Linked DNA regions of Homo sapiens: all the other regions are linked to region 3. The links are contacts of gene promoters, found by promoter capture Hi-C in blood cells and fetal thymus (Javierre and others, 2016). All regions are on one chromosome and are shown on one strand. Each heading gives the region's core, a stretch centred on a gene start or on the middle of the fragment in contact. The rest is flanking DNA. Distances are from core to core; before and after follow the strand shown.

Region 1 (3,384 bases), core at 52-2,551, 330 kb after region 3:
AATGGTATTGCCTAGGTTTTCTTCTAGGGTATCTTTCTCTGTTTCTTCCTTAGCTAGTCATCCTGTTTAATCTTCTTCACACTTCTTTTTCATGATGCTAATTTTCCTCAAATATTTGCTAATTCTTTGCTTTAAATGAAGTACTAAGTTGAATATCATCAACACCAGGCATTGGCTCCTTCAGCATTTGTATAGGGGGACTGTCTCTCCCTGGAGCTGGCCAACTGCAGGCTCATGATAAATGGGATGAGGAGGTTGCCAACCAATTCCCTTGTGGTGTGTGAATGGGGAGCTAGCAGGCAATCTGGGAATGAATTTGCTATAAATGACTGGCTTTAGTATGGTTCTCTGTAACAGCCCGTTGTTTTTTGTTTTTTCTGAGACTACTTTGAAAACCCAGAATTACATCAGATCCTGCCCTGTCTCTTTCTGACCTCTCATACCAGCTGAGCCCTTCACATTCACCTGGAAGCAAACACTGAAACCAGCCACTCCTGAAAACAAGTGGAGAAGAGGACCCTCGTTTTTCCTGGGAGAGTTGCTTGCTTAATCCCCTTTACATTCACCCTGTGGCTAGCTCCTCCTCCATATACTTTTTGACTCCTGACTTAAAAGTTCCCAGGTTACTCTAGGAAGAGAGCTTTCATTTCTGCAGTAGCCCTCTCCACATCTCTTCTTGGTTACTCTACTCTAAATTCTCCATTGTCTTATCCCATTTTTTTTTTAAATTAAAGAAATAACAAATGATTATTTATTCCATACTTTTTTTTTCTTCTTTGAGACAGAGTCTTGCTCTGTCGCCCAGGCTGGAGTGCAATGGCACAGTTTCGGCTCACTGCAACCTCTGTCGCCTGGGTCCAAGTGATTCTCCTGCCTCAGCCTCCCTTGTAGCTGGTATTACAGGCGTGCACCACCAAAACCATCTAATTTTTGTATTTTTTAGTAGAGACATGGTTTCACCATGTTGGCCAGGCTGGTCAACTCTTGACCTCAAGTGAGCCGCCTGCCTTGGCCTCCCAGAGTTCTGGGCTTGCAGGTGTGAGCCACCATGTCTGGCCAATAAATCTTACTGAATGGATCCAAGCTGCCTGTTATGTTTTAGATACCAAAGAGGCAGCAATGAACAAGATACAAATCCCTGTCCTTACAAAGCTCTTTTCTTACACTAAATAGCACAGAGATAGAGAAAGGTCATGACCCCTTCCTGTCCCACATTCTCCAATCCCAGTTCCTGAGGTAATATGTGAATAGTTTTGTATATAGTCTTCCACACCTCTCTCTAAGATCCTATAAACAATATCTGTGCTGTTTTGTTTTGTTTCACATAAGGAATCTCACTGTGTGCTCTTACAACTCATTTTTTTAACTTAATGATTTGGTAGAAACATTCTTCCGGTTCCACTATACAGATCCAATTCACTCTCTTAACAGCTGGACAGTATTGAGATTGTACCACAATCTACGCAAGTAACCCCTTATAGACAGACACACATGTATTTTTTTCTATGTGGTTTTAGTTTTGGTTCTCATTTTTTTAGCTGAATGTATGTATGTATTTATCTGTTTGGTTTTTGCTGCTACAAGTCTGTGATAAACATCTTTGTCCATACATCCCTATGTATGTGTGCTTCTGTATACTCTATAGTATACAGTCCCATAATTGGGAACGTTAGGACAAATGATTTATATATTTTTATTTTAATAGATATTGTCAGATTATTTTCCAGAAAGATTGTGGCAAGCCATGTTCTCACTGACAGCCCATGAATTTCCCCATATACTTGGTACTGCTCAATCTTATCAATTTTCCAATTTTTCCTCATATGATAGCTGAAAAAAATTCCTTAATTGGTGTTTTAATTTTCACTTCCCTAATGATCAGAAAGATTTCCATATTTTTATTGGCAATATGTATTTTCTTTCAATAGATTTCCTCTTTATAATTATGGCTAGTTTGGTGATTGTTATTTTTCTCTTCTTGTCATTTTATAGACATTCCCTCCATAAGAAAAATAGTAGCCCTCTGAATATCATATGTATAGCTAAAAATATATATCCTACTCTATTTTATCTTTTAACATTTATAGTATCTTTTGACATGGACAACATTTAAATTTGTAGGTTCTCATAAATGTTTATTTTCTTTTTCAGTTTCTCTTCTCCCTTGCTTAAAAAGATCTTTTTGATTTACATGGATTTACATATTCTCCTGAATGTTCATCTAAGTTTAGAGATGGAGGGGTTAAAAATTGTTTAGGCCATCTGGAATATGTTTTATACATTAGGTAAAGTAAGGAACTGTTTTCTTCTAGTTGAAAGCTGATTATTCTTACATCTTTTATTAAGTGACAAATCAGCCACTGAATTCCAATTAGACTTAAGTCATGTAGATTCTCCACTCAGTCTTACTGAGTATGTCTCTCTCTATTCTTCTGTCAAAGCCATACTATAACTTCTATTCTGACTTAAACTCTGTTCTATTCTTGTGTCAAAGCCACACTACAACTTCCATAGGACAAGGACTTTGTTTTTTATATTCTCTTTGCTATCTCTCCAGTGCCCCAAAGATGCCTCAATGCCTAGAAAAGTGCCTTCCCCATTGTAGGTGCTCAAAAAGTCAATGAACCAATGAATGAATTATAGTAGTTTAAGAATGAGTTTTAATATCTGGAGTGCCAGTGCTCTCATTGTTCTTCTTTCCAAATGTACTAGCAGTTCCCACTCATTTCCTCAACATTGAAGAAGGAATATATTTTTACATTTCTAATTCTAACTGGGGTTTTTTCTGGGTTAGAAAAAAGCTACTGGCTTTTCTTGCATTTGTCTTACATCCAAACATATTCCCAAGTTCTTTTATAGGTTTTTGTTAGCAGACTACCTGAGATTTTCTAGAAATGTATCATTTAATCAGCTAATCATCTGTAAATGAAAATACAGTTTCTCTTTTTTACCATATTAATTCTGATTATTTCCTTTTTTATTAAATATATGAGATAAAACCTTCAAAATAATATTGAGTAATAATGGAGATAGTGAGCACCCCATATTTTCCTCATATAAGTGGCAATTGCTTTCATATTTTGTCATTTGTAAAATGTTTGTTACTGATTTTTAATATATAGTCTCTATAGTTTCCTGGCTTCTTTTTTTATCTAGAGTTTAATTCAGAATGGCTGATGAGTATAATAATGACCTTTAGAGAATCTACTAAGTTGGAAATAATCTATTAATAATTTTTCTCTTTTTATGTGTTGATGTGATAAAATATATTAAAATATTTCTTAATAAGATTTTCTATAATGAATCATCCTTACGCTTATTTATATACTCTTCTTGATTATAGTACACTATTCTTTTAATATAATGCCAACTTCATTTGCTAAT
Region 2 (3,568 bases), core at 522-3,021, 350 kb after region 3:
TCCACTGAGTTATACTATTATACTGGTCTCTAGGGGAAGAAGCTCCCTCTTCACTCATTTTGAAGGAGGGGAAATGCTTGGTTGATTGGTCAGATTCTAGACCATCATTAGGCCATGTTTTCTAGTTGAGGACCAGGGCAGAATAAATGTGCCTGTGTACATGAAAACCTCTCTATGACTCATTTTCCTTTGACACCGATGGTGTGAATTTCATCTTTCTTGAGTGGCAAGTTCCAAGATTTAATCTTAACAAATGGCACAATTTAGGACTCTAAACCACACAAAATGTATTTCCCATGCAGTCCAATTAAGCTTCCTAAAGTTCTATACTATGCTTTAGGACCAAAGATTCAGACAAAGATTTTAATCAATCCAACAAAAAAACATATTTAATGCTTCTTATGCCGGACATGTTCCAGATGCTAGGAAATCAACACTGAACAAGACAATCTTGGTCTTGTTGGAGGAAACAAGAGTGAGAAAGGTCAGAAAAATAAATTTCTTAGTACATCTTAGAATAATAAGTTCTACAATAGTCTATTAGAGGGTGCAATGAAGCTATTAGAACTAAGCCTAATCAAAACTTTCAGGATAGAAGATTCCCAGAGAAAGTGATATAAAATGAAAAATTACTCAAATATGAGTATTGGAGGAGAAAGGGAAGATAATGTTTCAGAAAGAAGGATCAGCAGGTGCAAAATCCCAGAGATAAGTGCAAACAACGTGTGCTCAAGGAACTCAAAGAAAAATGCATAGCTAGGACATAAACTAAGAGGTGAAATGTGGAAGAGATGGTAGGAAGAGGCCAGATCATGAAAGACCTCAAAAGCCTTGTTTAACTGATATTTTTTAAAGGTCCAGGAGAAATTAAAGTGCAAGGAAGAGTAGCGATAATCAACAGAGCAATATTCCTGAGAAGGCAGGAGGAGACAGGAGTCAGATCTTAGATGAAGGGTTAAGTTTTAGGCAAGAGAAAGAAAAACTCTCACATAGTTACTGTAAAAAAGAAAGAAAAGGTGGACACAAGTACATGTAAGGTTACAAATATATTGGTAGGAAATAAAGGGAATTTGTACCAAAACACTTGTATTTTCTCTGTGAAGCTGATGAAGTCACTAGGTGTGTGTGAAGGATGTAGTGGGATCCTAGTTGAGGTTACAAACCAGAAGTTTATAATGTATAATCTTTATGGTTTTATATCCTTTTTTTCCTACAAGTGCTCAATAGCCCTGGAATAGGACAGAGAGAGTAGAGAGCTAGATTTATCAAGACTCAGAATTTGCCAAACTTTGTAAAAATGAGGTCAGGAAGTGACACAGATTGGCAAAAAACTTCTCTAAGTGGAAGACCATGTAATTTAACCTGGAAAGGAAAGAACGTGAAGACTGGAGTAGGCATACAGAAAAAGAGAAAATAAAATGGTCAGGGAACTGAAGTTTGAAAAATAAATATAGAAGAAGTATCAGAATGAAAGAGTTGGAAGGATAGGTGATATGTGGTGAGGATGTGGGTGTTTTCAGAATTGGAGTAACTCTAAGAAATGACCACGGCCACAGATTGACCATGGGAGTTGGGGTGAAAGTTATGATAAGGTCAATTTCTACTTTCACCCGAACTTCCATGGTTCCCTAGAACCCAGACTTCTGGGTAAGTCATGGTCATGATCCATGAAGTTGTCCAGCAGCTTAAAACAAAAAAGAAGACCACCACTCAGGAGTAAGTCTTCCATGAAGGAAAGGAGTCGCTGGGAGCCCAGCAGGTGAAACAATGAGGAGGGGTAGACAGATGACCCAAGACTCCTCCGAGGAGGAGGTATTAGTGATATGACTCAATGGACTCTGCAGTGGAGTCTAGGATGATCCACATGTCTGTGAATTCCACTGCCCAACCTAAGAAGCATGGCTGTGGGAATGAGTGGACTGCACTTCAGAAGAGACTCAGGGAGAACCATGTTTTCCTATTGGGATTGCATAATTTAATTTAGTTAATTTCTGCTTTTACATCTATTAATGCCCTCTTCTATTTTTCACATTGTTTGATTAGACATTTTCTAGTTTCTAAACTTGAATTTACTTTTGCTACATGTTCATTTCTCATAAAATACTAAACACCAGGGATCCTCTAAGAACAGTTGGCTGCAAAGTAAAGGTGCGCAGCGTTCACATATCCATTTCCAAAACAATCATCACTTAAGGCTCTGTTTTCTTTTTTTTATTATTATTATTATACTTTAAGTTTCAGGGTACATGTGCACAATGTGCAGGTTAGTTACGTATGTATACATGTGCCATGCTGGTGTGCTGCACCCATTAACTCGTCATTTAGCATTAGGTATATCTCCTAATGCTATCCCTTTCCCCTCCCCCCACCCCACAACTGTTTTCCTTTTAACCTAAGAAAGATTGTTGTTTTTCCCCAGGGACTCTTTTTTTAATTATTATGATTTGCCTTTCATTTTTAATTTCTAACTTGTATTATATGGTGGTAAGAAAAAGTGGCCTTTACAATTTCTTCTTTGGAGAATGGATTGAGGTATTCTTTGATACCTAGTATTTAATCGATTTTGTAAAACCACACAGGTATTGAAAAAATGTTTATTCTTTTCATTGGCTATAACATTCAAGCAAGTTTGTCAATTGTGTTATTCAAATGTTCTGTATACAAAATTATATTCTGTCCACATAAACTGTCACCTTCCGAGACTTAACAGATCGATGTCTCCTACAGAGAGTGTGGCTCTGTCAGGTAGTCCTCATAGTCATCACAGTTTTTGCTTTGTTTCAATGCAAGTGTGATGCATAAAAGTTTGTAACTATTACATCTTCTCAGTGAATTTTACCTTTTTTAAACCTATGCGATTTAAAACAGCACTTCATGTTCTCTTTAATTATTTTGGCCTTGCGTTCTATTTTGCCAGATAATGTTGCTATTCCATTTACCTAACATTTCTCTCTCCATCTCTTTATATTCAACATTTGTGTGTCACTTTATTTCTGGTGTGTCTATTATAAAAGAAATCTATGACTGCAGTTCACCTTCTAACCCTGCCATTTATTTATTCTTTTCTTGTTCTTTCTTTCCTTCTGAATCTTTGCTGGATTGATCAAGTTCTTTGTTGTTGTTGCTCTTTTCTACTCTGCCACGTTAAAAGATTTATAAATCAGTTAGAATTCAGTTCAGCTGCATGGAATAGAAACTCCAAAATAAGCAGCGTAAAGACATAAGCTTCTCCCCAGCCCCTAAGTAAAAGAAGACTAGAGAAAGGCAGCCTAGGACTCCTGGTAGGAGGCCCCGCTGTCCTCAGGAATCCAGCCACCTCTTTTCTTTCTGCCCTATCATTCTCAAGGACCTAAGGACACAACTTCTAGTCTCAAGGCCATATGGCAGTTGTGGTGGCTCCAGCCAACCTGTCCAATTTCCAAACAGCGGGAAGAAAGAAGGGAAATGGGCACAAAAACACGTGTCTGCTGAGTCAGCTCCTTTTAAGAAATCTTTGCTCATATTTCACACAGTATTTCCATTTACATTCAATCAAGTGGCCACTACTAACCGCAAATGTGGCTAGGAA
Region 3 (3,621 bases), core at 400-2,899:
CTGAATATTTTTACTACTAGGGCCAAAGTCGTTAAGCATTACTACTATGTGAAGCTATCCTGGAATTCTTTCTACACTTTTACAAATTTTTTATTTATTGTGGAGATATTTCAACTAATTAATAGGTAAGGGGAACTCACATGTGGATTTGTGGTAGTTAGATGGTGTCTTTCCTCTTAAAAGCTGGTGATAATCTCTTTACCTCCTGATCCGATGACTAAATACAACAGAAAGGGGGCTGTCCAGCCCAGTTTCTAGGAAATCTAAGAACTAAATAGACTAAATTCTTTTCCCAGAGTTGCACAGTCTTGGCACTAAAAAGACAGAATCCAAATCAGGATGTTCACAAGTTGTACTGCTTGGAAAAAGCCAGTAGTTTGCTCTATGCTCTTCTTTTCTACTCTACTATTTTCCCCTTTATTAATATATGTGCACATGTATGTACATGCATGCACATACACACACATTTTGTCCAGCAAAGCCATGTAATACTTCAGGTGCCATTGCCTCAGATCTTAATAGTTAACAGAAGTTATTCAGTCCCTTATTTTTCCCTGCATGTTCTTCAGCATTTCACCTCTGCTTCCTCTGTCAAAAAAATGGGGGTGGGTATTTTACATTTAATTAGTATTTTCTGAGTATACTTTTTTTGCGGGCAAATGATGAGTGTGAAGCAGAGAAAGGAAAAATATACTTGGACAATCTTTTTCTTCTAATTTCCCATCTGAAAGAGCTGAGGAAAAGGAAATTTCCCCCACCCTGTGCCAACTATTCAAGCATTTTTAGTAAACAAAATAGTTAATGGTGAGAATCTACCCCGAGGATTTTCCACAATCTTCTCTGATTCCTCATTCTGTTTTCCTTTCCCTGCCTCCCCCTCCGTCCTTGCATAGCCCTAAAATGCTGTGAGCAGAGTGGTGGATTGGGTCAATTCTTCCAACCTACTTGCTGGGCCACCTTGGAAAAGCAGTTAAACTTTTCGACATTTTCACCACTAACAAAATGAAAGAGTGGCTTTGACAGGAATTGGGGGAGATCATCTGTATTCTTCACTTTATTAAAATGATTGTGAGTGTCTATGTGTTTCACTTTGGGTGGCAAGTGCTATAAAATTTAATAAAATTATTTAAAATGTTTATATTTGTCCCTAAGTGTTCCAACTCACTAGCTTCTACATTCCAAGTTTCCTAAATCTCACTTCCTCCTGCCTTACCCAGAAGAGACTTTCCTCACCCCAACTGCTCCTCTAGGTGAGTGGGAACTTCCCACAGAAACTTTAGCCCCCTTACCACCCCAACCACTGGCTCACCTCGGTCACTGGCCGTTCCTGGAGTGAACTCTGTGAATCTGCGTCTTAGAGGACAGTCAGAGAAGCCAAGTCTCCCTGACCATCCAGATGGTAGAAGAGACGCTTTCAGCGATCCATGTCAAACCCGGTTGTTACCTCTTAGAGATTCCACCGGGTCTGGTTTCTCTGCCTGCTCCTTATTCTACTCCTTCCTTGGAGTTCCGTATGCTCCTCAAGGACGCCTTCGGGCTGATCTCTCCGCTGCAGCCAGTTTAGTCGCTCTTCAGTACCTCCTCTCCCTGGTTAGCTCCCCGGAGAGGAGCTTTCAGGACCACAAGCCTCTGGGCAGCTCCTGCTCTCTGGCCGGAGCCTCTGACTTGCTGCAGTTTTGATTGCTCTCCCAGCTGACCAGGGAGGAGTGATGTTGCCCAGAGTCTAACTCCTCCCTTTTCCCCAGCCGAAAGACACGCCCACTTGAAAGGCTCCTCCGGCCAGGTCCAGTTTTGCCGCCCGTTTGTTTGTTTAAATAGAGATGGGGGTTGGTGGAAGGGGAGCAGGGGAGGAGAGTTGCTGAAGTTAAGGAGTAAAGAAAAAGAGGACTGGAAACCTTTGTGATTAAAAAGATAAGAAATGGGAGCGGAGTAGTGTGGACAGAATGGAGAAAGAAAATTGGGGATAGACTTGGAGAGAGAGCTAAAAAGGGCAGATGACGCTGCTGACCCACGTCTGAAAAGAATCAAAAGGTGAGAAAGATGCGTGTCAAGGACACAGCATCAGTGGCTGCTTCCTTACACATGTGGACTGGGGTCTTTGGCTTATAAACTTCAGCGTTCTAAAAGTAGAAGGAAGAAGTATGTCTCTCCCACCTTTTCAGCACGTCAAAGCTACTCTCATTAAAACTTTTAATTTGTGAATTTAGGTGAAGCTATATTTGTTGTGCTATTCTTTCAACTTTCTGATCACTTTAAATTTATAAAAACAAAAAGGAAATTAATAAAATCCTTCATTTTAAGGGCAGTTAGTTCCTTGAGTTACAAACTGAGATCTACTATTGTTTTTCAAAAATACATCATTAAGCATTCACGTAGAAAAAGTCCACCTGAGTAGTAATAAGCTTAGAAGAAGAGAAGGCTCATAATAATTCCTAAAACTCCTTTGGTATTAGGAGGTTGAATTAAATTGCTAGAAGACAGAAAGAAAACTACATCTGGAATAATTTAAGTATATAGATATTCATACTATCTTATTTAAAACTACACCAAGGAAAAATAAATGATTGTGAACTTAAGATACCAAAGATTTTCTAATCATCTTGTGTTTCCAAGAAGGAAAAAGAAAGGTGCTCAGATTAAGCAATTGGCTGAATGATCTTGAATAAGTCAACTTCACTCTGGGCATCAGTTTTCATATCTGTAAAATGAGTTTTTCCATCAGTAGCCTGATAGAGTTACGAATCCAAGTTCAACTTCTTTTAGAAATTGACTTGAAGGATAATTCCTCAGGCGTTTTGGCAAAAGGCAAAACATTTATACAATCTGAAAAGAAACCAGAGTATCCCCAGCTTTTTGAGAATCGCGTGGTCTAACAACATAACTAGCACATGCGTCAAACAGAAATGAAAAACTATTAATATGCCTGTGTGCAAGGAAAACTGTAGAGGGCTGAAACAAAAGATAGTTTCACTGCTCATAAAGTTGAAAAGAGTATCTTAAGTTTGAAAATAGTTATTTTTAATTCTGATATGTGTCATATGACTCTTGTTTTTCACAGAAAACAAGAAAATAAAAATTAACACTTTTTTCAGTTTTCATGGGAAGTTATTTATTTTCAGCAGCTCTTTAATCTCTTACTTATCTTTATTTGTATCCCTATCCAGAAAAATATCTGCTCAGGAAAATAAACTTCATTTTCAGAATAATTAAACAACACATGATGGGAATAGCAGATCTCTAAAAAACAAATCAGAATTCACTCCTCGGCCACAGGAAATTTATCTATGAGGTAATTTATGTCTAGGATAGAGGTGCTTAATCATTGTTCAATGAGCGCTTACTGAATGAATTGATCTCCTGCTTTGTGTCTTCAAAGCCCTGTCCATGGATATTTAGAAGTTGATGGCACTGATGCCTGTGAAATTTTCAGGGGCAGGGAGTAATAGCAGATTAGCAGAAAGGTGAACATATTGAGACAAAGATGAGGGTGGGGATAAAACATTCTGCAGGATTCCTTGCTTTCTCTGACAGATGTAAGGGACTGGACACAATAGGATTAGCCTTCAAAATACATTCGTGTGTGTGTGTGTATGTGAGTGCACACACACACATACACAAGCG
Region 4 (3,489 bases), core at 508-3,007, 280 kb after region 3:
TTATCCAGTAAAACTAAACATTATATGTAAAGGAAGATACAGTCTTTTCCAGAAAAACAAATGCTGAGCGAATTCGCCACTACCAAGCCACCACTACAAGAACTGCTAAAAGGAGCTCTAAATCTTGAGACAAATCCTGGAAATACACCAAAACAGAGCATCTTTAAAGTATACATCTCACAGGACCTATAAAACAAAAACACAAGTTAAAAAGCAAAAAAAAAAAACCAAGGTACACAGTCAAGAAATAGCAAGATGAATGGAATGGTACCTCACATCTCAATACTAACATTGAATGTAAATGGCCTAAATGCCCCACTTAAAAGATACAGAACTGCAGAATGAATAAGAATTCACCAACCAACTATCTGCTGCCTTGAAGAGACTCATCTAACACACAAGGATTCATATAAACTTAAAGGGGTGGAAAAGGGCATTTCATGTGAATGGACACCAAAAGCAAGCAGGAGTAGCTATTATTATGTCAGACAAAACAAACTTTAAAGCAAGAGCAGTTAAAAAAAACAAAGGGGACATTATGTAATGGTAAAAGGTCTTGTCCAACAGGAAAATATCACAATCCTAAACATATAAGCACCTAACATTGCAGCTCATAAATTTATAAAACAATTACTAATAGACCTAAGAAATGAAAAAGACAGCAACACAATAATAGTGGGGGACTTCATCAATACTCCACTGACAGCACTGGACAGGTCATCAAGACAGAAAGTCAACAAAGAAATAATGGATTTAAACTATACCTTGAAACAAATAAACTTAATAGATATATACAGAACATTCCATCCAACAACTGCAGAATACACATTCTATTCAACAGTGCATGTAACTTTCTCCAAGATAGACCATAAGATAGGCCACGAAATGAGCCTCAATAAATTTAAGAAAATTTAAATTATATCGAGCACTTTCTTAGACCACAGTGAAATAAAACTGGAAATCACCTCCCAAAGGAACCTTTGAAACTATGCAAATACATGGAAACTAAATAACCTGCTCCTGAATGATCATCAGGTCAAAAACAAAATCAAGATGTAAATTTAAAAATTATTCGAACTGAATGACAATAGTGACATAACCTATCAATCCTCTGCAATACAACAAAGACAGTGCTAAGAAGAAAGTACATAGCCCTAAATACCTACATTAAAAAGACTGAAAAAGTGCAAAATGACACTCTGAGGTTATACCTCAAGGAACAAGAGAAACAAGAACAAACCAAACCCAAACCCAGCAGAAGAAAGGAAATAACCAAGATAAGAGCAAAACTAAATGAAATTGAAACCAAAAAAATACAAAAGATAAATAAAACAAAAAGCTGGTTCTTTGAAAAGACAAATAAAATTGATAGACCAATAGCAAGATTAATAAAGAAAAGAAGAGAGAAATCCAAATAGCATCAATAAGAAACAAAACAGCAGATGTTACAACTGACACCACAGAAATACAAAAGGTTATTTAAGGCTACTATGAACACCTTTATGCACATAAACTAGAAAACCTAGAAGATATGGATAAATTTCTGAAAAAATACAACCCTCCTAGCTTAAATCAGGAAGAATTAGATACCCTGGACAGACCAAGAATAAGCAGCAAGATTGAAATGGTAATTTAAAATCACCAACAGAGAAAAGTCCAGGACCAGACAGATTCATAACAGAATTCTACCAGATATTCAAAGACCAATTGGTACCAATTCTTTTGACACTATTCCACAAGTTAGAAAAAGAGGGAACCTGCCTTAATTCATTCTATGAAGCTAGCATCAACCTAATACCAAAACCAGGAAATGACATAACCAAAAAAGAAAACTACAGACCGATATCCTTGATGAACATAAATGTTAAAATCCTTAACAAAATATTAGCTAATAGAATCCAACAACATATCAAAAAGATAATCCGCCATGATCAAGTGGCTTCATACCAGGGATGCAGGGATGATTTAACATATGCAAGTCAATAAATGTGATATACCACATAAGTAGAATTAAAAACAAAAATCACATGATCATCTCAATAGATGCAGAAAAGGCATTTGACAAAATCCAGCATCCCTTTTAATTAAAACTCTGAGCAAAATCAGCATACAAGGGGCATACCTCAATGTAATAAAAGCCATCTATGACAAACCCACAGCCAACATAATAGTGAATGGGAAAAGTTGAAAGCATTCCCTCTGAGAACTGGAACAAGACAAGGATGCCCACTCTCACTATTCCTCTTCACCATAGTACTGTAAGTCCTAGCCAGAGCAATCAGACAACAGAAAGAAATAAAGGGCATCCAATTAGTAAAGAGGAATTCAAACTGTCACTGTTCGCTGATGATATGATTGTTTACCTCGAAAACCCTAAAGACTCCTCCAGAAGGCTCCAAGAACTGATACAATAATTCAGCAAAATTTCTGGATACAAGATTAATGTACACTAATCAGTAGCTCTTCTATACACCAACAACGACCAAGCAGAGAATCAAATCAAGAACTCAACCCCTTTTACAATAGCTGCAAAAAAAATTAAAACAAATACTTAGTAATATACCTAACCGAGGAGTTGAAAGACCTCTACGAGGAAAACTACAAAACACTGCCGAAAGAAATCATAGATGACACAAACAAATGGAAACACAAACCATGCTCATGGATGGGTAGAATCAGTATTGTGAAAATGACCATACTACCAAAAGCAATCTACAAATTCAATGCAATCCCCATCAAAATGCCACCATCATTCTTCACAGAATTAGAAAAAAAAATTCTAAAATTCATATGAAACCAAAAAAGAGCCCACATAGCCAAAGCAAGACTAAGCAAAAAGAACAAATCTGGAGGCATCACACTGCCTGATTGCAAATTATATTATAAGGCCATAGTCACAAAAACAGCATGGTATTGGTATAAAAATAGGCACATAGAAAAATGGAACAGAATAGAGAATTCAGAAATAAACCCAAATACAGCTAACTGATCTTCAACAAAGCAAACAAAAACATAACGTGGGGAAAGGACACCCTTTTCAACAAATGGTGATGGGAAAATTGGCTAGCCACATGTAAGAGAATGAAACTGGATCCTCATCTCTCTCCTTATACAATAATCACCTCAAGATGGATTAAGGACTTAAATCTAAGACCCAAAACTATAAAAATTCTAGAAGATAACCTTGGTAAAACCCTTCTAGACATTGGCTTAGGCAAGGATTTCATGACCAAGAACCCAAAAGCAAATGCAATAAAAACAAAGATAAATAGCTGGGACTTAATTAAACCAAAGAGATTTTGCATGGCAAAAGGAACAGTCAGCAGAGTAAACAGACAACCCACAGAGTGGGAGAAAATCTTTACAATCTATACATCTGACAAAGGACTAATAACCAGAATCTACAATGAACTCAAACAAATCAGAAAGAAAAAAACAAACAATCCCATCAAAAAGTGGGCTAACGACATGAATAGACAGTTCTCAAAA
Region 5 (3,882 bases), core at 872-3,371, 300 kb after region 3:
CGAGGTGGCGCACACCTGTAATCCCAGCTACTCATGAGGCGGAGGCAGGAGAATCACTTGAACTCAGGAGGCAGAGGTTGAAGTGAGCCAAGATCACACCACTGCACTCCAGCCTGGGTGACAGTGTGAGGCTCCATCTCAAAAAAAAAAAAAAAAAAAGCTGCTCTGGTTTTTTTACCTAATTATATAAATCTAAGGTAAAATGTGTATTCATTAGAATTTGATCCAAAAATACATTTTTATTTCACATAAGTACAGGCAACCTACAACTATTCTGGGGAGCTCCATTGTCAACAATCCAGCTTTCTTCTATCTTATACCACCATCTTCATCATGTGGACTCCACATTACCTCCTGGTTGACAATATCCCTTCCACTTCCAGCAAACTCATTCTGGCCAGCAGGAAAGATTTTTTGTTGTTGTTTTAAAGGATTCTCCCATTCTTCCCTCTAATGACACCTCTCAGCGGATGCACCAAGCACAGTCATTTGTACACTCTTGGCCAAAACTTAGTCTTGTGTCCATAGGACTAGCAATGACAGCTGAAAAATAATCTTTAGGTCCAGCAGCCAAGCTTCCATCTAACATTTGAGGATTCTTACTAAGGAAGAAGGGACGAATGAATATTTGGAACTCTTATTGCAGTCTCCAATACAGTCAGTCCCTTTGGTCACCCAACCACCTGTGCACAACCTTCCTCTCCATAAAGGACCTGTTCATACCCTCCTCAAAAGACACAACAGCAAAGCCCCAACCAGGCACAGCTTCCAGATCAAAGTCCAGGACCTCTGGGAGATAACTCTCAGTCAAGTCTAGATATGGATCTTTGTGATCTGGTGACCTCATCTGCCTCAAAAACACCAAAGATGCAATGGAGGAGCAAGAAGCAGATTAACTGCATGCAATTAAATCTACGATTTGGTAATGGGGAGCAGAGAAAATACACAGCAGTCACTAGTCCATTATAATTAATAAATTCCATTGTTCTTTGGTAGTAGAGTGCTTATTTTGACCATCTGACATCCTGGATTCTGGTCTTGGAGAGTAATTCCCTTGTCCACTGTCCTGTCTAATCTGTTCTCTCTTGTCCATTATCTTCCATGAACAAATTGAAATAGACATTTTATATGGTTTGACTCTGTATCCTCACCCAAATTTCATGTTGAAATGTAATCCCCAGTGCTGGAGAGGGGGGCTGGCGGGGGGTGATTTGGATCATGAGGGCAGTTTCTAATGGTTCAGCACCGGCCCCCAGTGCTGTTCTCATGATAGAGTTCTCATAAGATCTGGTCATTTAAAAGTGTGTGGCACCTCCCCTCGCCTTCTGCTCCAGCCACGTGCAGATTGTACGTTTCCTGAGACCTCCCCAGAAGCCAAGACAATGCCAGCATCATGCTTCCTGCACAGCTTACAGAACCATGAGCCAATTAAACCTCTTTTCTTTAAAAATTACCCAGTCTCAGATATTTCTTTATAGCCGTGTGAGAACTGACTAATACAACATTGGAAAGTATTACCTACTTGGGTGTTGCACAACTTCCCACTCTCTGTTTTGGAGGCCTGGGCTTTAGGGGTGGAACAGTCACAGGCTTTTACAGCCAGGCTTGTGATTCCTCTGTCAGTATAATTCCTTCAAAACCTTAGTAGAGTTATGATCTGTTTGCCTGTGGTTAGTTCCAGACATCCCACATGCAAATATTCCACAACCAAATGCATCTGCACATCGTTTTTAAATCTGAAGACTCTGGTCTGTGCTTACTGGCTTCTCTCCTCTATCCATGCCTCTTAAGCCATAAAGTTAATGGCAGCAGTCTAGAAGCCCTCAGAAAGAAAAAAAAAAAAAAACCCTTGTTTTAGCATAAAAACAAGATTCTTAATCTGATCTTTGCTGTTGCACTGAGCTCTCATTGTCTGGCAGAAAACTCTTAATAAAAGGTACTGAAAAAGGTTTAGGACCACAGTTTTATCTCCTGCTTAGGCTGTCTTTTCACAGCCACAGCATATAACTGCTTCCCTTTGAGGTATGCTCCTGATTTTCTTTACCAAACTGCAAGGCTCCAATTCCAGACCTTCAGTCAATTTAAATTAGAGGCCTCAGGCACGGAGCACCTGCAAGAGAGCTATACCTCCAACAGTCTGTATCTCTGTTAACAGACTGGTGAGCTCTAGCCTGAATTTATCTCTTTTCTAGAACTTGGATGAAAGCAGTAAGAAGCAGCCAACCAACCCCAATACTCTGCCTTTTTGCCATCCTTTTCACTGACACCACACCAGGTGGCAGACAGTTAAGTTTTCCAACTGTTGCAGTTTCTTTTATCCAAATGTGTTGCCCCTGCATAACGAGAGTCACCAGACTTTCAGCCTCCAAAATCTGAGTCTTTGCTGCCTACTAGATATTGTTATAGAACCAAACTAGGTTCCATTTGCCCAGTGCAGTTAAGTCCAGATATCCACAAAAAGGTTATTGCAGCAGTAGAAAGGGAGCCATTTATTTGCAAGACACCAAGCAAGGAGAATCAGAACAGCTCATGCTGCTTAAAACCCAAACTCCCTGATGGCACACAGGTAAGGGTTTTTAAAGGCAAGAGTTGTGTCTCTGCCAGGTTTTGGTATCAGGATGATGCTGGCCTCATAAAATGAGTTAGAGAGGAGTCCTGCTTTTTCTATTGTTTGGAATAGTTTCAGAAGGAGTGGTACCAGCTCCTCTTTGTACCTCTTGTAGAATTCGGCTGTGAATCCATCTACTCCCAGGTTGGTTTGTTTCTTTGTTTTTTGTTTGTTTGTTTTGAGACAGAGGCTCGCTGTGTCACCCAGGCTGAAGTGCAGTGGTGCAATCTCGGCTCACTGCAACTTCCACTTCCCGGGTTCAAGCGATTCTCCTGCCTTAGCCTCCTGAGTAGCTGGGATTGCAGGTGCCCACCACCACGTCCAGATAATTTTTGTATTTTTAGTAGAAACAGGGCTTCACCATGTTGGTCAGGCTGGTCGCGAACTCCTGACCTCATAATCCCCCCACCTCAACCTCCCAGAGTGCTGGGATTACAGGCATGAGCCACCGCGCCCAGCCAGTAGGCTATTAATTACTCCCTCAATTTCAGAACTTGTTATTTGTCTATTTAGGGATTCAACTTCTTCTTGGTTTAGTCTTGGGAGGGTGTTTATGTCCAAGTATTTATCCATTTCTTCTAGATTCTCTAGTTTATTTGCATAGAGGTGTTTACAGTATTCTCTGATGGTAGTTTGTATTTCTGTGGGATCAGTACTGATATCCCCTTTATCATTATTTATTGAACTAAAGAGCTTCTGCACAGCAAAAGAAACTATCATCACAGTGAACAGGCAACCTACAGGATGGGAGAAAATTTTTGCAATCTATCCATCTGACAAAGGGCTAATATCCAGAATCTACAAAGAACTTAAACAAATTTACAAGAAAAAAACAAACAATCCCATCAAAAAGTGGGTCAAGGATATGAACAGACACTTCTCAAGAAGATATTTATGCAGCCAACAAACATATGAAAAAAAGCTCATCATCACTGATCATCAGAGAAATGCAAATCAAAACCACAATGAGATAGCATCTCATGCCAGTTAAAATGGAGTTCATTAAAAAGTTAGGAAACAACAGATGCTGGTGAGGCTGTGGAGAAATAGGAAAGCTTTTACATTTTAGGTGGAAGTATAAATTAATTCAACCATTGTGGAATACACTGTGGCCATTCCTCAAGAATCTAGAACCAGAAATGCCATCTGACCTAGCAACCCCATTACTGAGAATATACCCAGAGGATTATAAATCATTCTACTGTAAAGACACATGCACACATATGTTTATTGCAGCACTGTTCACAATAGCAAAGACTTGGAACTAACCCAAA
Region 6 (3,791 bases), core at 1,136-3,635, 260 kb after region 3:
GAGTAGCTGGGATTACAGGCACGCACCACCACTCCCGGCTAATTTTGTATTTTTAGTAAAGATGGGGTTTCTGCATGTTGGTCAGGCTGGTCTCGAACTCCCAACCTCAGGTGATCTGCCTGCCTCAGCCACAGAAGAGCTCGGATTACAGGCATGAGCCACCGCACCCGGCCTATTTCTGATTGTAAGATAAGTGCATTCAGTAATTTACAATTGAATACGATGTTTCCTGTAAATTATTTGTAAATAACCTTAATTTTTCATGTTAAGAAAGTTTCCTCTATTCCTTGTTTTCTAAGACTTTTAACAATGAATGGATGTTGAATGCTACCAATGCTATTTCTACATTTAATTAGATAATCATATATGTTTTATTTTAATATCTAAATATGATGAGTAATAATAACACACTTCTTTTTAAAAAATTCTTTTCAGAAAGAAGTCCAGTTTTCCTGAAGTAGTGTCTTGTCTTTAAGATAGTTAGGCTCACTTTGCTGCTAATTTGATCATATTTTTGCATCTTTATATAAACAAGATTAGCCTGTGATACATTATTCTTATATTTTCCTTAAAAGATTTTAGTATCAAAGGATGTCATCAAAATGGTATAGCAGAAACAATCTGACTTTGCTCTCCCCAGCAGAAAACCAAGAACAAATATCCAGCATCAAGATTATCACCAGGGGCCAGGTACAGTGGTTCATACCTGTAATCCCAGAATTTTTGGAGGCTGAGGTGGGCAGATTGCTTGAGTCCAGGAGTGCGAGACAAACCTGGACAATGTGGCAAAACCCTGCTTCCACAAAAACACAAAAAATTAGCCAGGTGTGGTGGTGCACACCTGTAGTCCCAGCTACTTGGGGGGATGAGGTGGGAGGATCACTTGAGCCCAGGAAGTTAAGGCTGCAGTGAGCCATATTGGAGCCACTCCACTCCACTCCACTCCCGCCTGGGTGACAAAGCAAGACCCGGTCCCCGCCTCCAAAAAAAAAAAAAATATATATATATATATAGTAACCAGCAAAATCCTAAAACTCAAATCTGAGGCTGGGGCAATCCCTACAGCCACAGAGAAGTGAGAAACTCCGAGCTTCGGGTAAGAGAAACAAACCTGTCTATCTTTGATACCGATCCTCAATCTGCCAGGCACCATTTGTGGAAAATTCCCCCAGACTCATGGTTTCTAGATCGGAAAAAGTGAGATTGAGGTAGATAGCCAGCTTCTCCACCATCGTGGATTCCCTTGTAGGAAAAGCATTCCTGCCTCAACTCATGGGAAATACCTGTAGGAAGGAAAACCCCAAGGGCAGCTGGAGATAAAGAGGGAAAGTGGGACTAGAAACCCCAGCCTGTGAAACCCTGGTCTTTAAGGCAAAGGAGATGCCAAATCAGAGTGTCTGTTCAGCAGTACGACATTGTATGAGGCACATTCTACCAGTCTTTTGAGCACAAATCCCTAGCCAGATTTCCCTCATGGGTATGGTAACTTCTTTGGGACTTCCTCTCTCTCCTCAGTCAGGGATGGGCAACACTCTGAGCAGTTGCAAGAAGCCCAAGCCAAATCTGGGCTTAAGGCACCATCTAGTGTTGAAAAGGAGGCAACAATGTAGGATAAGGAGACCAACAGGCAGCTAAATATTACCCCATAGCAAACATACCCTAGGAAGACCAAAACAAGCCAGACAGCAAAAACTGTAAATAATCCTCCAATGCAAAGCCATAGATGTATATCCATAAGAAACAACAGCAAACAGGGAACTCTGACCTCCACAAATGAGCAAAGCAATGAGCCAAAGACTGATCCTAATGAGGCAGTGATATATAAGCTCTGTTAAAGAATCCAAAGTAGCAGTTCAAAGGAAACTCAGTGAACTCCAAGATAACACAGAAAAGCAATTCAGAAATTTACTAGAGATATTTAACAAAGATATTCAAATAATTTAAAAATTTAAACAGAAATCCTGGAACTGAGAAATATGTTTGCTAAACTGAAAAATACATTATAGGCTCTCAACAGCACAATGGATCAACAGTGGGAAAACTCAGTTAGTTCAAAGACAGGCTATCGGAAAATACACAGTCAAAGGAGAAGAAAGAAAAAAGAATGGAAAGAAATGAAGAACACTTGCAAAATATAGAGAATACCTTTAAGAGAGCAAATCTAAGTGTCATTGCCATTAAAGACGAAATTGGGAAAGAGAAAGTGTTAGAAAGCTTATTTAAACAAATAATAACAGAAAAGTTTCCAAACCTAGAGAAAGGTATAATCTAGCTACAGGAAGGCTAGAGATCACCAAATGACTTCAATCCAAATAATACCACCCGAAGGCATATAAGACTTTGAGAGTTTACCCTCAAAGGTCAAGGACAAAGAAACGATCATAAAAACAGCAAGAGAAAAGAGGCAAATAACATATAAAAGGGCTCTGATTCATCTGGCAATAGACTTCTCAGGAGAAAACATAAAGGCCAAAAGGAAGTAGAATGACATATTCAATGTGCTAATGGGAAAAAAAAAAACTTTCAACCAAGAATACTGTACCCAGAAAAAGCTTTCCCTCAAACATGAAGGGGAGATAAAGTCTTTCCCAAACAAACAAAAGCTGACAGAAGGAATTCATCACCACTAGACCCATCTTACAAGAAATGCTAAAAGTACTTCAGTCTGAAAGAAAATGATGCTATCATACAAAAGCAAAACATTTGAAGATATGAAACTCACTGGTTGAGTGCAGTGGTTCACACCTGTAATACCAGCACTTGGGAGGCCAAGGGGGGAGGATCACCTGAGGTCAGGAGTTCAAGACAAGCCTGGCCAACATGGCGAAACACCATCTCTACTAAAAATACAAAAATTATCTGGGTGTGGTGGTGGGTGCCTATAATCCCAGCTACTTGGGAAGCTGAGGCAGGAGAATCACTTGAACCCAGGAGGCAGATGTTGCAGTGAGCCGAGATCATACCACTGCACTCCAGCCTGGGTGACAGAGTGAGACTCCGTCTCAAAAAAAAGAAAAAGGAAAGAAAGAAAGAAACTCACTGGTAAAAGAAAGTACACAGACAAACAGACAAATTAACAATATTCTAATATTGTCATTGTGTAATCTACTCAAAAATCTAGAATGAAGACCAAAAGAAAAATCTATAAAAAATAGCTACTGCAGCCTTTTAAGAGATAGGCAATATGAAAAGATGTAAATTGAAAAAACAAGAAGTCAGAATGGGGGGTGGAATTAAAGTATAGAGTTTTTTAGTTTTTCCTTCCTTTCTGTTCTGTGATAAAAGTTAAGTTGTCATCTGTTTAAAATAACTTATTATATTTATAAGATAATTTTGTAAGCCTCATGGCAACCGCAAAGCAAAAACCTATATTAAATACACCAAAAATAAAGCTCAGTGTATTAAAATGTATTACCAGAAAACTTTACCTAACCACAAAGGAAGACACTCAGAAAGAAAGGAAGAGAGGAGTTAAAAAAACAACCAGAAAACAAGTAACAAAATGACAGTAAGTCCTTACCTATCAATTATTATACTGAATGTTAATGGACTAAATACTCCAATTAAAATACATGAATGGGCTGGGCATAGTGGCTCACACCTGTAATTCCAGCACTTTGGGAGGGCGAGACGGGGGATCAGAAACCCTGCCTCTACTAAAAATACAAAAATTAGCCAGTGGCGGTCACCTCTAGTCCCAGCTACTCGGGAGGCTGAGGCAGGAGAATCACTTCAACCAAGGAGGCAGAGGTTGCAGTGAGCCACCACTGCACTCCAGCATGGGCAACAGA

Evidence for each region. The method cuts DNA at HindIII sites, captures the fragments that hold promoters and counts their contacts. A CHiCAGO score of 5 or more calls a contact.
Region 1: a fragment that was not itself captured here is called in contact with the fragment with the promoter of NEUROD4 in region 3 in 6 of 17 cell types (activated CD4 T cells, naive CD4 T cells, non-activated CD4 T cells and 3 more); the score reaches 9.1 in activated CD4 T cells.
Region 2: a contact is called between a fragment that was not itself captured here and the fragment with the promoter of NEUROD4 in region 3, in 6 of 17 cell types (total CD8 T cells, M1 macrophages, total CD4 T cells and 3 more). The highest score is 6.5, in total CD8 T cells.
Region 4: a fragment that was not itself captured here is called in contact with the fragment with the promoter of NEUROD4 in region 3 in 2 of 17 cell types (activated CD4 T cells and naive CD4 T cells); the score reaches 5.4 in activated CD4 T cells.
Region 5: a contact is called between a fragment that was not itself captured here and the fragment with the promoter of NEUROD4 in region 3, in 7 of 17 cell types (naive CD4 T cells, naive CD8 T cells, non-activated CD4 T cells and 4 more). The highest score is 8.3, in naive CD4 T cells.
Region 6: a fragment that was not itself captured here is called in contact with the fragment with the promoter of NEUROD4 in region 3 in 7 of 17 cell types (naive CD4 T cells, total CD4 T cells, activated CD4 T cells and 4 more); the score reaches 7.1 in naive CD4 T cells.

The regions. Positions count from the first base shown.
Region 1 is chr12:54,690,617-54,694,000 of GRCh38, reverse strand. No RefSeq gene overlaps it. Among named protein-coding and RNA genes, the nearest start is that of DCD, 44 kb to the right of the region's middle. The HindIII fragment of the contact is 9,388 bases long and covers 1-3,384 here.
Region 2 is chr12:54,668,048-54,671,615 of GRCh38, reverse strand. No RefSeq gene overlaps it. Among named protein-coding and RNA genes, the nearest start is that of DCD, 21 kb to the right of the region's middle. The HindIII fragment of the contact is 2,913 bases long and covers 315-3,227 here.
Region 3 is chr12:55,018,002-55,021,622 of GRCh38, reverse strand. NEUROD4 (neuronal differentiation 4) reads right to left here and starts at 1,649. Exons shown (of 2, transcript NM_021191.3): 1 at 1,310-1,649. The HindIII fragment of the contact is 8,784 bases long and covers 1-2,404 here.
Region 4 is chr12:54,738,783-54,742,271 of GRCh38, reverse strand. No RefSeq gene overlaps it. Among named protein-coding and RNA genes, the nearest start is that of DCD, 92 kb to the right of the region's middle. The HindIII fragment of the contact is 7,865 bases long and covers 1-3,489 here.
Region 5 is chr12:54,714,144-54,718,025 of GRCh38, reverse strand. No RefSeq gene overlaps it. Among named protein-coding and RNA genes, the nearest start is that of DCD, 68 kb to the right of the region's middle. The HindIII fragment of the contact is 3,088 bases long and covers 578-3,665 here.
Region 6 is chr12:54,757,713-54,761,503 of GRCh38, reverse strand. No RefSeq gene overlaps it. Among named protein-coding and RNA genes, the nearest start is that of MUCL1, 95 kb to the left of the region's middle. The HindIII fragment of the contact is 338 bases long and covers 2,217-2,554 here.